Regions from separate parts of the Homo sapiens genome. Here region 2 is linked to region 1. Evidence: promoter capture Hi-C in human tissues and cell types (Jung and others, 2019). All regions are on one chromosome and are shown on one strand. The core of a region is centred on a gene start or on the middle of the fragment in contact, and the rest is flanking DNA. Distances in the headings are between cores, read along the strand shown. Region 1 holds the start of MEDAG (mesenteric estrogen dependent adipogenesis). Region 2 has its middle 14 kb from the start of LINC00545.

What was found. Contacts are between HindIII fragments. The study calls those that stand out against the background at their distance.
Region 2: a contact is called between a fragment that was not itself captured here and the fragment with the promoter of MEDAG in region 1, in 1 of the 25 tissues and cell types used here (mesendoderm cells).

Annotation. Positions count from the first base shown.
Region 1 is chr13:30,902,006-30,908,397 of GRCh38, reverse strand. It overlaps MEDAG (mesenteric estrogen dependent adipogenesis), which reads right to left and starts at 2,127. Exons shown (of 5, transcript NM_032849.4): 1 at 1,605-2,127. The coding sequence starts at 1,882. All of the region lies in intron 2 of TEX26-AS1 (TEX26 antisense RNA 1), which reads left to right. RefSeq lists an enhancer at 1,025-1,526. The HindIII fragment of the contact is 12,319 bases long and covers 1-6,392 here.
Region 2 is chr13:30,865,638-30,872,050 of GRCh38, reverse strand. No RefSeq gene overlaps it. Among named protein-coding and RNA genes, the nearest start is that of LINC00545, 14 kb to the left of the region's middle. RefSeq lists enhancers at 1-191, 192-1,001. The HindIII fragment of the contact is 6,914 bases long and covers 1-6,204 here.

The sequences.
Region 1 (6,392 bases), core at 878-3,377:
AATTATTTTCAGAGGCTCCTTGCTATTTCCCAGGTACAAAAGAAGCCCTCACAGTATTGCTTATACAATGATAGCCTATTATTTGTTGTTTTGTATTTGCACCCTGGTCTGTGTTACCTGGTCACTGTGGCCCAGTTGTTTATTCTAGATTCAAAGCTGTCAGGGGAATCACTGTTGTTTAATTTTCTTTTGTGTAGGAGGTGTTCAAAGCAAAAGTTAGATGACAGACTTCAAAATCATTTCAGATTCTGCAGCACTGTTTGCTACAATTAGGAGAACTGGTTCTGTCAAAACCCTAACTTACGGCTTCGTTCATTCTGGACATTTTTATTTTTCATACCCTGCTCTCAAATACAATGGGTATCTTCTTTTTAAATCTGCACACATCTGACTCAGTTCCTCCCACAGTCCTCCGCTTATGGTTTGGAATTGGAATTTTCATTTCACTAAGAAAGGGAGAAATTCTTGCTGGGGAATGGTTCTTCAGGCATTCAGAGCCCTCACTATCTTTGGAAAAGCAAGGTTTTTTCTCCAAGAGTTTTGAAGACTGCACGTTCAATATCTCATTTTGTTTGCTTCCCTCTCTTGGCTCCCTCCTACCCACAGGGTGCCACAGCACGCTGTCTTTCCCAGTAGCAAAGGCGCTGTGTCTCAAAAGCTGGCTATCTTATTCATTTCTGAGTCAAACTCTAGACCATGCTTGCCTCTTCAGGCACTTGGCTCTCTCAGCACAAATATAACAGGTCTTTGCACTCCAGGCCCTTGCCAAGAGTGAACTCTGGAGGCCTGAGGCCATGTGGAATCAGGCCTGAAGTGCCCTCCTTTACCCTGTGGCACCAAAGCCTGCTTCAGATGGCTGGGCCACATCCTGCCGGTCTGCCAAGAAGAGCTTGGGGGCACTCTGGCCACAACAGTCAAGCATCCTGGGGGCCTCCTTCCCATTAAGGCCCTCAGGTTTCGCACTTATTTCCCCAGAACTTATCTGTGCCTTCCACAGCCCACATGGCCCCGGGCTGGACTTCCAGGGGCTTTGTTCCCTTCTCAGCTGCGGTTTATTTGTTTACTTTTGAAACACGAAGTGAGGCCAGAGATGGGAAACTTTGAGCTTTTGCATGCTTCTCCACTCGGTCTCCTCACTGGAGAGGGCTGGCAGTGCTCAGAATGGTGCATGCCCCCTGCTCCTCACCGCCACCCATGCTCCAAAGCCAGGATGTGAGTCTTGCAGAGCTGCAGACAGCCCCTAAAGGGTGTGCTCCCAATTTGAGCTCATCTGACCCAGTTAAGGAGCCAGAATGGGAGAAGCATCTGCCACTCATGAGCTCTGGCTGGGGGGCCCCTGCCCTCCCCCTCGCCCCCAGTCCTGATGCCCTTCTGGGCGGCTTCAAGCAGCAGCTGCAAAATGTCAGTGCAAGAGGCAGAAGAACCAGGGCGAGCGTGCAGGCTCCGGGTGATAGAAGCAGAAGGAAAGTCTAGAAGCGCACGGAGCAAGGGGCCACGCGGTGTCGCAGGCAGCGAGGACAGCCCAGGCTCCCAGAGACCGCAGCCGGGTGGAGGCGTCTGCGGGTACCAGGCGACGGGCCAGGGCGCACGGCGAGGCCACCCACCTCTTGATGTAGCTGCTGAGGCGGTAGAGCTGCCCGTCGAGGCGCACGAGGCCGTCACCGAAGACGTTGAAGCCCCCCCGCGCCGCCGCCGGCTCCCCGGGCCTGGCCACCACGAGCTGGTCGCCGCTCAGCTGGAAGGCACCGGGCTGCAGGCGCAGCAGCTGAGCCAGCGGCAGCAGGGCCAGCTCGCAGTCGCAGGTCCACAGGCTGCGAAGCTCCCCAGACGAGATGGAGGTCAGGCTCGGCCTGGCCACCGGCTCGCAGGCCGCCCCCGCCATGCCCGCGTCGTCGGTCCTCACACCGCCTGCTTCCGTCCGGTGCCTACAGCCCCCAGCCGGCACCTGATGGTCCCCAGGAGGGGCCGGGCGCCCTGCCTGCGTCAGCCGCGCGCGAGGTGAGGAGGGGGTCGGTCTGCCCGCCTGGCCGGGACGCGGTGGCCGCTCAGGTGCCAGTCTGACCGCCCGGGCGGCCCCTCCCAAGCTGCCACTCGCTGGGAGCCCTGCAGGCACCGCGCGGAGAAAGCGGCCCCGGCGCAGCGCGGCCCCTTTTATCCGCCCTCTGGACGCCCGCCTCGCCCCTGCCGGCCCACGGCCACGACCCCAGAGGCTCGGGGCAGAGTTATCATCGTCTCATAACTTGGCATGCTCGAGTCTGCTCGCAGGCAAGGCTTAGTCATCCCCCTGGGGTCCACTACTCAACACCAGCGCTGGCCCCCGCCCTGCCTGGCGGACACTGCCGGAGGCTGGAGGTGGGGAGAGTCCTCCCCGGGTTCCCAGGCCCTGCCTATGGTGGGCGGCAGGGCGCACAGCACCCATCCTTGCCTAAGACACCACACCCCTGGTGTTGATTGGAGAAGAAGGCAAGGGCTCTGGCCCTACCCATTCCACCTGGGACCCAGAGGCTGTCAAAGGCCAGTGCTGGAACTCCGATCCCCACCTCAGTACCAGACCTCTCACTCAGCCTCAGTTTTCTGCCATTTTAACTCCATCCAGATCGTACCCTGCATTTCCCTCCTTTCAGCCTTTCCTTCAGCTGGTTGCTGGCCCTGGATCCCTTCCCCCTAGAAATCCCACTGATCATCACATCGCTTTTCCATAAAGCCTTCACGAATCCCACGAGGGTTTCATCGCTTTGCTTCTCCTTTCTACTGCACGGTGAACCCTAGACTGCAATGTGCCGTGTAGTGGGGATAGCAGGGTCCTAGCATCCTCCCTTCTCCCCTGCCTCCCCAGTAGGTGGTGATCTCCTTGAGCCCCAGAATATGTTCATTTCTTCAGTCTATAAATATGTGAGTGCTAGCTATGGGCTCATTGATCTCCTGAGGTATGAAAGGAGAACTATATTATTCCATTTAATTAAACACCTATTTCTGCTGCGGAGAAGCCTGGATGGGATGGGAGGAGAATCTAGCCTAGTTTCGAGGCTTTCTGTAGTACTGTGTTTTAGGATTCTAAGCTACATCCCAAAAGTTGAGTAGAACGTAGAGAATATCCTTAGTTAGTCTTTGTGTGCCCCCACATGAACTCTTGTGTAGGTTTAATCAGATGGGATGAAGAGTCCTCCCGCCACATCTCATTTAAATCTCAGAATATAAATGAGCCCCACTCTCTTCTCTTCTTCTAGGTGCACACCTATCCTTTCTCCAGACATGGATCTTTTACCCATGGGATCATTACCCCATCTCTGGGCCTCTCTGAACAAATCTAATTCACTGAGCATGAATTGATCACTACCCACTCAACCTTTTGTGGCGCAGGAAGGATGCTCTACCTGTGAAAAAAGCATCCAGAAGATCTTCTTGCAAAGGGAGGTTTGAGGATCCCTGCAAAGAGAATGGGTCTGGGGTGGGCTGAGACTGTAGACAGGACTCAGAGGCTGGGGCTGTTTTCACAGGGGAGGGATTTGGTGCCAGCAGTTAAATCCATTGTGCCCTATTTAGAACTTCACTCTTGTCCCAAACATTGACAGAGTCATCACTATGCACCAGGGACCATCTTAAGCTCTGAGGTCACACACACACACACACAAGGATCCAATAAGTGCTACCATAGATGTATGGACTAAGCACTATGAGAAATAAGTGGTTCTGCCCCAAGAAGGGTGCTCAAAGGAGGTGACACATGGCTAGACTTCCAATACACAGGGGAGGCTCCCAGGGGAAGGAGCAGCAGCAATAAGGAGATGGGAGAGAAGATTCTGTACCATTCTATGCAAAGAGAGATGCTATGGTTCCATCTGGGGGAGGGGGGAAATTTTTAAACAGCTAGGGCAGACCATCCTATTTGGGATAAGAGGGGTCAGTTTTATATGAGATGAGACCAGAAAGGGCTGTTGGAGCCAGATTGTGACAGACCCTCTGAGTTGTCAGGAATTTGGATTCTTAAGACAATGAGGAGCCTTGGGATGTTTTAAAGAAAGGAAGTGATATAATTATGCCTCAGTTCAGATAGACACCTTTGGTTATGACCAAAGAAGATGTTTTGAAACAGGAAGATCAGAGGCAGAGAAACCAGTTAGGAGATTGATGTAATAATCCAGATAACATATGATGGGGGTCTGAACAGAAGCAGCTGTGGGAATGGAGATGAGGTTTCAACATTTTTGAGTCAGAGTCAGCAGGAAGGATCTTATGAGTAAATAAATGAAAAAGAGCAGAGAGACCCACTTAGTCTCTTGCTTGGGTACCCAGAGAGATGGTGACACCATTAACGAAGCTAGGGTTCACAGGAGGAAGAGTAGGAGTTTGAGGAGAGATAGTGATGAGTTCAGGGGGGACATACTGATTTTGAGCTACTTATGGAACATCAAGGTAGAAAAGTCCAGGAGGCAAGGAGTTAGTTGGGTCTGGCGTTTTGGAAAGACAAGGTCAATGATTGAGATTTGAAAGTCTCTAGATCAAAGACGGGGTTGAAGCCAAAGAAGTGGATGGGGGCATCTAGCTAATACATGATAGGGTAGGAATTTGAACCCAGGCCTTTAGTTTACTTCAACATATGTTAATTGAGCATCTGCTATGTTCAGTGCTTTGCTGGAGATACAGAGTTGAATAGAGGATGGCCCCTGTCCTCAAATAACAGGGAGAAATGCAGGAATCAGCATGAACTAGTCTTCTGGCACCATGTCCAAACATGTGGCTGAAATCTAGTTATATTTTGCCTGTGTCTCCAACCTGCTGGTGGAATACAACCTCAACAACAATAACAGCTGCAGAAGTTGCTTTCAATTAGTAAGTCAAGGAGGGCAGGTCCACTACAGAGCCCTCACCAGCCCCTACTCTCCCCATTCCACATAGATCGAACTCAACAACTCACCCTATGAGCTTCACATAGATCAAGCTCAACAACTCTTGATTGCCCTTAAACCTACACCACACTGTCTATGAATGATTTGGCTTTCTTGAAGGGTAAAATGTTACATCGGGGTTTTATATCAGAATTATATGCATTTGTTTAAGATAAACATACCAGTCCCTCCTATCAAAAAACCGTTTCCTGGGCAGGCACGGTGGCTCACACCTATAATTCCAGTATTCTGGGAGGCCAAGGCATGTGGATCGCCTGAGGTCAGGAGTTCCAGACCAGCCTGGCCAACATGGTGAAATCCCATCTCTACTAAAAATACAAAAATTAGCTGGGTATGGTGTTGAATGCCTGTAATCCTAGCTACTTGGGAGGCTGAGGCAGGAGAATCGCTTGAACCTGGGAGGCAGAGGTTGCAATGAGCCAAGATCGTGCCATTGCACTCCAGCCTGGGTGACAAGAGTCAAACTCCATCTCAAAAAAAAAAATCCGTTTCCTTCATAGTAAGATATCAACACTTAGATCTGAGTAGAAGAATTAAACGAAATTTTTCTTTACCTCACCACAGTTGTGTGATTTTACACTTTTCCTGTATTTTCCAAATAAATGTGTATTGTTTTATACAGAAAAATGATGTTGAGCATAATAAAAATATTTTAAAGATGCTTTCTTGGTATGTTGTCTAGAGGTTTCATTTGATGCGTTTTCAGCAAAACACCTGCATTTCTTTATGGGTAATTTATGCATTACCAAAATGCCAGAGAAAGATATGAAAAAGTGAACAGAAAAAAAATAGTATTCAATGTAATGTAAGCCATTGCTAATAAGTAGAGAGCTAGAGAGATCTTTTCATGTTTAATGTCTTTTTCATTACCCAAGTACCAGCCAGGCAAACAATCACTCCTGGTGACGACCTTTTCAGTCTTTTTTTGGTTTGCTTACATAGTTGTGTTCCTATCGTAGAATTTTTATTCGGCTTTGTGCATTTAACATTATATGTATATTATGTTGTGAAAATTTCATTTTCTTTGTGAATAGTATTTTAAATCACTATGCTATTTTCCATCAAGTGTATATTCTATTGTTTGTCTAGACATTTCTTTACTCTTGAACACTCAGATTGTTTCTTGTTTTTCCTTATAAACAATGCTGCAATAAACATCTTCATACTTTGATTTCGTTTTTCTGTATCCAAGCTCTCAGAGATGGAATTACTGGGACAAATGATATGAGAATGTGCATTGCTCTGGAAACGTGTGTCATTATTCTCCTAAAGGCTGGCACCAATTTGTCTTCTCACCAGCAGTGATTTTTCATGGTTTTAAATCTTTGCAGTTGGGGTAGGGTACCTCACAGCTATTTACGCTACAAGTGAGATTAACAGTTTAGCTATAATGTTACCACTCAAATTTAGAGACTTTATAGCAAGGCAATCACCCATTGGTGAGTCTGTGGCTATGCTCACAGGTAAAAGACAAGATAAAGATTT
Region 2 (6,413 bases), core at 1,498-3,997, 37 kb after region 1:
CGTATTCTCTCCTTCCCTGCCCTAAATATACATCCTGGTGACTGCAGACCTGCTTAACCATGAAAACAAATGAGAAATAAAGGTCTGAGCAAAGCTGCAGTCGCCTCCTCTCAACTATTTATTCTGATTTCTCGACAAGTGAGTTAATTGGATGGGCCCTGTGACAGACATTCCATACTAAAATTCATAGCTTTCTGCCAAAACAACATATTGTGCGCTGCTATATTTTCCTTGTTGGAACTTGGCGCTGACGTGGGTCCCGAGCAGTTTCATGCGGAAGCGGGGAGACTGAAGGCGCTGAAACAAAGGCGACACCCCCTGAGGCTCCCAGCCGGCCTGTCCTCCGTCCTCTGCAGCAGCACCTGTTCCTTGGCTTTTTTATTGTTACTTGGGCTTTGCAAGGTTCAAGTTCAAAGGGAGCCCCAGGAGTGAAGAAACAGATGCCGGTTTGAGGCCACACCAGCTGGGGCCTCCCTGCAGCCTGGGAAGGGTTTGGGCTGTCTGGCGGCCTTGGTGGGCCCAGCTGCCCGGCTCAGGCAGGTCTTCTCTGCGGAGCCCTGTCCCATGCCCCAGTCCCCATGCGCAGGGCCCTGCGGGGAGGTCCCGTCGCCCCAAGGGAAGGACAGGGCCGGTGCAGGCTTAGGGCTGCGGAGCCCTAGGCGGCCCAGCTGATGCCACCACCGCTGTCCTGAAGGTTCCTTTCCCTTTCAGCAAAAGTCAGCAGCTGCCTCCTCTGATTCAGAGATGTTCCCCCTCTGAAATAGCGCTCTCTTCATTTTCCAGGAATTTCTACCCGTCTCGGTTCCCTCTATCCACCTGCCAGGACCCAGCATCCACCATCCCTCTGCGTCCTAGGCCTTTTCTCCTGAGATTCAAGGAGCACCGGGCCGACATGCCCAGGCCCCCGCTGTCCTCTCAGAAGGGAGGTTGGCCTTCGCACCTTCTCCACTCTGTAGCCATGTCGTGGGCCTTAAACAGGTAGAGAGAGAGGTAGGCTTTTGCTCCCCACGTCAGTCCCCAGAATGCTCATCAGTCAGCAAGCAGGCACCAGCCCCCAGTGCAGCTTCACTACCCCACAACCATCGCCGTGCCAGAACCACAGACTCCCTCCAGACAGCCTCCGATAAGAAGCTCCGTGCCCCTGAGTCCACCTCACAGAGCCCTGACTCCAACCAACAGAACTCCTGACTCCACCCACAAAGCTCTGACTCCACTCCACAGAGCCGTGACTTCACCCCAGAGATCCCTGACTACATCCCACAGAGCCCTGACTCCACTTAACAGAGCCCTGACTCCACCCAACAGAATCCCTGACTCCACCCACAGAGCCCTGTCTCCACCCACAGAATGCCTGACTCCACCCAACAGAGCCCTGACTCCACCTCACAGAGCCCTGACTCCACCAAACAGAACCCCTGACTCCACCCAACAGAGCCCCGACTCCACCCACAAAGCTCTGACTCCACCCAGAGCCCTGACTCCACCCAACAGAGCCGTGACTTCACCCCAGAGAGCCCTGAGTACACCCCACAGAGCCCTGACTCCACCCCACAGAGCCCTGACTCCACCCCACAGAGTTCCTGACTCCACCCAACAGATCCCTGACTCTACCCACAGCCCTGACTCCACCCCACAGCACTGACTCCAGCCCTAAGAGCCCCTGATTCCACCCACAGACTTCCTGACTCCACCCGACAGAGCCCCTGACCACCCCACAGAACCCCTGACGTCGACCCCACAGTGGCCCCTGAAGCTCAATCCCGTGTAGGCCAAGGAGTTATGTGAGCTCCTCACCCCTGTGCTGTCACTGTTTCCCTAATGGCTTCCCTTAGATGACCTCACATAGCATGCGTCACAGACTGAAGGAGCAGAGTAGCATCCTCTCCATTCCAGAGGCAACCGCAGTGGAATGCCATGATTTGCTTATAGTTTCACAGCTTGTAACTGGCAGCAGCTCCAACCAGGGCCCTAGGCTCAGATTCCATGCTCTTTCCAACCTTTCAGGCTCCTAAAGAATTAAAATCAGCCTGGAAAGTGTCTGCCTCTGACTGGGGACATTCGAGTGTGCATATCACCCAAAGGGAAGAGGCAGGAGGAAACGAGCTTCTAGAGTGACAGAAGGAGCTGAGGAATGGAGCCCAATAATAAAGGAAAATTTTAAAAAGAAAATTGACACGAGAGAAGAAAGTCCCTATTTAGAAGAAAATATTTGCTCCATCAGAGCAAAATGCCTCTACATTTCTGCCTGAAACCATCTATATTTCTGAACAGGGCTTGCTCCACCCTACAGTGGAGGAGTGGACTCCACCCTGCAGAACCTTGGTCTCCAGCCCAGCCGTGACCTGGATGCCCTTTCCCTGCCTCTGGCCAGCCCAGATGCATTCCTTCCTGCAAACCCAGCTCAAGTACGTCTTCTCCACAGCCCGTGGTGCACCTTGCCTGCCTCCCGTGTCTCCTCCTCGCTGAAGTCCTCCGGCATATCCACACTATTTGGGGCTGCTTTAATTGGTCCTCACTGGTATTTTGTCTTGAGAAAGTCCTTTGGTTGTTGCATGTGTTTCTGTTTTTGCCCCTTCATCAGATTGTAAAGCCGTCGAAGATGGAAACATTATCTTCTATTTCTCTGTTGGTTTCCAGGAAGCTCCTTTCTGCAGGTCTTCCCTCGACCTCTCAGGATGCACAATCTCAGTCTTTCCTGGCTTGCCTCAGCATTTAACACCCAGTTTGGAGTTTTGGTCCTCTTAGCACTTCTTGTCCTCTCAAGCTACACTCTCTCCAGGCATCCTAACACATGCACATTTGCCACAGCTGCTTACAGCTGAGACTGTTTCCAGCCAAGTATTCAAAGCCATTTCTTAACTTCCAACTGGGCCTTTCCTCCTGAAAAGTTCTGAGGCGACTTCAACTCAGTAGGAACTGAACTGAAGAAATTACCTGTCTCCCAGCCCAGTTCTTTCTCTGGTATCATCTGTCTTTATTAATGCTCCCTCATCCACCCAGTCACCCAGAAACCTGGGATCATCCTAGACTCCTCCCTCCTCATCATCACCACTGTGCCCAGTCCTTCCAGCCCCTCTGAGGGCTGGGGTCTGAGCCAAGCTTTTGACTCAGAGCTTTCCATTTACTCCTCTCCACAATGCTATGGAGAAAGCACTATTTTACCTCTGCCTTAAAAATGAAGACACCCAGTCTGGGCACAGTGGCTTACACCTGTAAGCCCAGCAATTTGGGAGGCTGAGGCGGGCAGATCATTTGAGGTCAGGAGTTTGAGACCCAGCCTGACCAACATGGTGAAACCCCATCTCTACCAAAAATACAAAAATTAGCCAGGCGTGATGGTGCATACCTATAATTCCAGCTACTCTGGAGGCTGAGGCAGGACAGTCCCCTGAACCCAGGAGGCAGAGGCTGCAGTAAGCGGAGATTGCGCCACTGCACTCCAGCCTGGGCAACAGAGTGACACTTTTCCCCCCACCCCCACCAAATACACACAAAGACACTCAGGCTGGGCATAGTGACTCACACCTGTAATCCCAGCACTTTGGGAGGCCAAGGGAAGAGGATCACTTGAGCCCAGGAGTTCAAGACCAGCCTGGGCTACATGTCCTAAAACATTCAAAAATGAGCCAGGTGTGGTGGCATGTGCCTGTGGTCCCAGCTACTTGAGAGGCTGAGGTGGGAGGATCACTTGAGCCCAACAGTTCAAGACTGCAGTGAGCTGTGATCACACCACTGCACTCCAGCCTGGGTGACAGAGCAAGACCCTGTCTTAGAAAAAAAAAAATGAAATGAGGACACCCAGGTTTAGAAAGGGTAAGAAATTTGCCCAAAGTCACACACGGAGTAAGTGGTGGTGTTGAGATTCCCAGCCAGATGAGCTGACCCCAGAGGAGACAAACATCTTCCTGCAGTCAGCCAGTACCCACTCTTCACAGTACAGGGCCCACGAGGTGGAGAAAACCCATTTTATAAGGAGAAAACTGAGGTTCAAAGCAGGTGGTGACCTGAACCAGGCCCACCAGAGTTACGACTGCTCTCACTCCTCTATAGCACAAGCTACCTTTGAGAGAACAGAGCTCCGGATCATTTAAGAGGTTTCCTTCTGTTCAGTGCCAACTGAGTTTAAAATTCCCGTGTGAGTTATGATTATCATTTCCATTGATTCATTTCCATTGATTGAGAATAAAAAGAAGTGGTTTATGTTGCAGCATGAAAGATCTAAATTAGAATTTTTAAAAAAAACCTTCTAGATCTGGAGAGCTGATAGATTTTTCATTTCCTTGCTAAGGGAGTCTATGCAAGCTCTCTCTGGAAATCCTTTGAAATGGCTTAGAGACCTGATGTAGCTAGAATGAGTTTGGAGGAATCCAACATGAAGGTAGCCCAATACTAGGTTGCAAACAGGCTAGATGCTTTTGGGTTTGTAGACATGTTTGATTTGGAACTCCCAGTGTTTTACATGAAAATCCCAAATTCTGGCTTCTTTTGAAAAACCAGTTGATATGACAACCCAAGCCTTTCTGCCCCAGTTGGCCACAGTCCATGCTGGAGCAGGGTCAGCCTGCCTCCTTGGACAGGGCCGGCACACTCCACTTGGCCTCAGCCCCTCCAGCCAGCTTACCTACTGATGTTACCTTCCTGGGCTCTTTAGGCATATGAATTAGTGACCTCAGATGACACTGGTAGGGTCAACCTTTCAAACGTGCACCTTTCCACTTAGCCAAAATCTGAGCTATGCCAGACATTTTGTTAGATAGCATCAGAGCACGGACTAGAAGCTGAATTGCTCTTGCAGTGAAAGGACTGATTCCCACACTCCTATTTTATCCCTACATGAAAACATGGCAAAATCAACTTTCCTTCTTGCTTACCTTCTAGGAAAATCAGAAGTATTCACCAGGTGTTGAAATAGAAACTTATTTCTTATAATTGCCAACTTTGCTGCACTGAGTCACATGTTGATTTCTACCTAATGAAAAATCCAGAGCAGGCTGGAGTCTGACAGATAGAGCCCGATTCGCTATTTACTCTGGTGCTAATCACAATCATGTTTACAGGAAAATGCCCTCATCTGCTTCCAGCAGCTCCAGCCACTCAGCCATGTGAGCGCTGTCTTCAAAGTCAATTGCCTGTCATTTTGCTGATTTATGTTGAGCAACTGCAAGGACCCCTCGAGGTATTTGTAGCTAGCTTGATGATTCCCAGCTTATAAAGTGGCAGTGGGCAGAGCATTTCAGTTCAAATTCCCATCAAGACAGAATTTAAATCCCCAGCCCTGCTGCTCATATTTGCAATGTGAGCACTTTAGATAAGCAGAAACCATCAAACCCTAAATGCTGGGGGAAATACAACCTGGATTTCTTCAAATGGAGCCTAAGCCCAAATCTTCTTTCAGACCTTGGATAGGAAAGTGATTCTAACAGTTTTTAAAAGAGTGATCACATATGCTTTTTCCCAAGAAGTATTAACGACTGAGGCAAGACGGGCACTATCAGATTAGATTGGAGAAGCCGGGAAACGAATTTCCCTCACCGCCTGCCTGGATTCTTAACGTTTCAACCAGCAGAATCTAATTTCTTTGGAATTACTTGCCCTCTAACAGAAGTTTTCTTTTTAAAATGAAAATATTGCCGAAAAGGGAGACCTATTAAATTACTAACCCATTAGCTTCTGGTTTAGCTTCAATCTTAGAGAAGCCCAATTCCTTCTAAACCTGTCTCGCCCTACACTGAAAGTGCTGGAGGTGCAGATCTCAGTGCACTGGCCTTGGCTGCTGAGATTCAGGGAGGTTAGATGGCGGGTAGAGTCACCCATGCGCTGTGGGATGGGGGTCCCTTCCATGCACTCTCCTGGCAAGTCCTGAACCACCAAAGGTGTAAGTGGATGTATTTTTCAGGTTCTCCCTTACAGCACTTTGAAGTCAAACACAAGATTTAAGGATTGCTCACAGCCTGCATTTTCTGTATTTCTGCATTTCTTGTTCACTCAACGTCTCAGGTATTTAATTACATACTCACTGTTAGGGCTCAGGGAAGCTGTTTAGAGGTTCAGCTCAGCCCCTTCGGGTCACAAAACTGAAATACAGTGACTTCCCCAAAGTCAGCAAAGCTCAAGGATCCTTAAGAACCCAGACATGTGAGATACTGAGTAATCCAAACTGAGGCCAACTCCAAAAAAGGGCTCCATTGACTCATCTTTCGGTCATCTCGCTCCAGCTCTCACTTAGAGAAAGTGCGTATTTCTTCCATTTAGAAAAGACTGCTCACGCTTTCCATGTCATTACATTTCTTTATTCCTCTCTTTATATTCCAGCTGCCTTTCTTCGTGTTTTTTGTCACTTGCCCTATTTAGCCATCTCCAAACTAGCTACCTGCCTCCGTGCCATGGAGCATGCTTTTCTGCAGCTCGGCCTC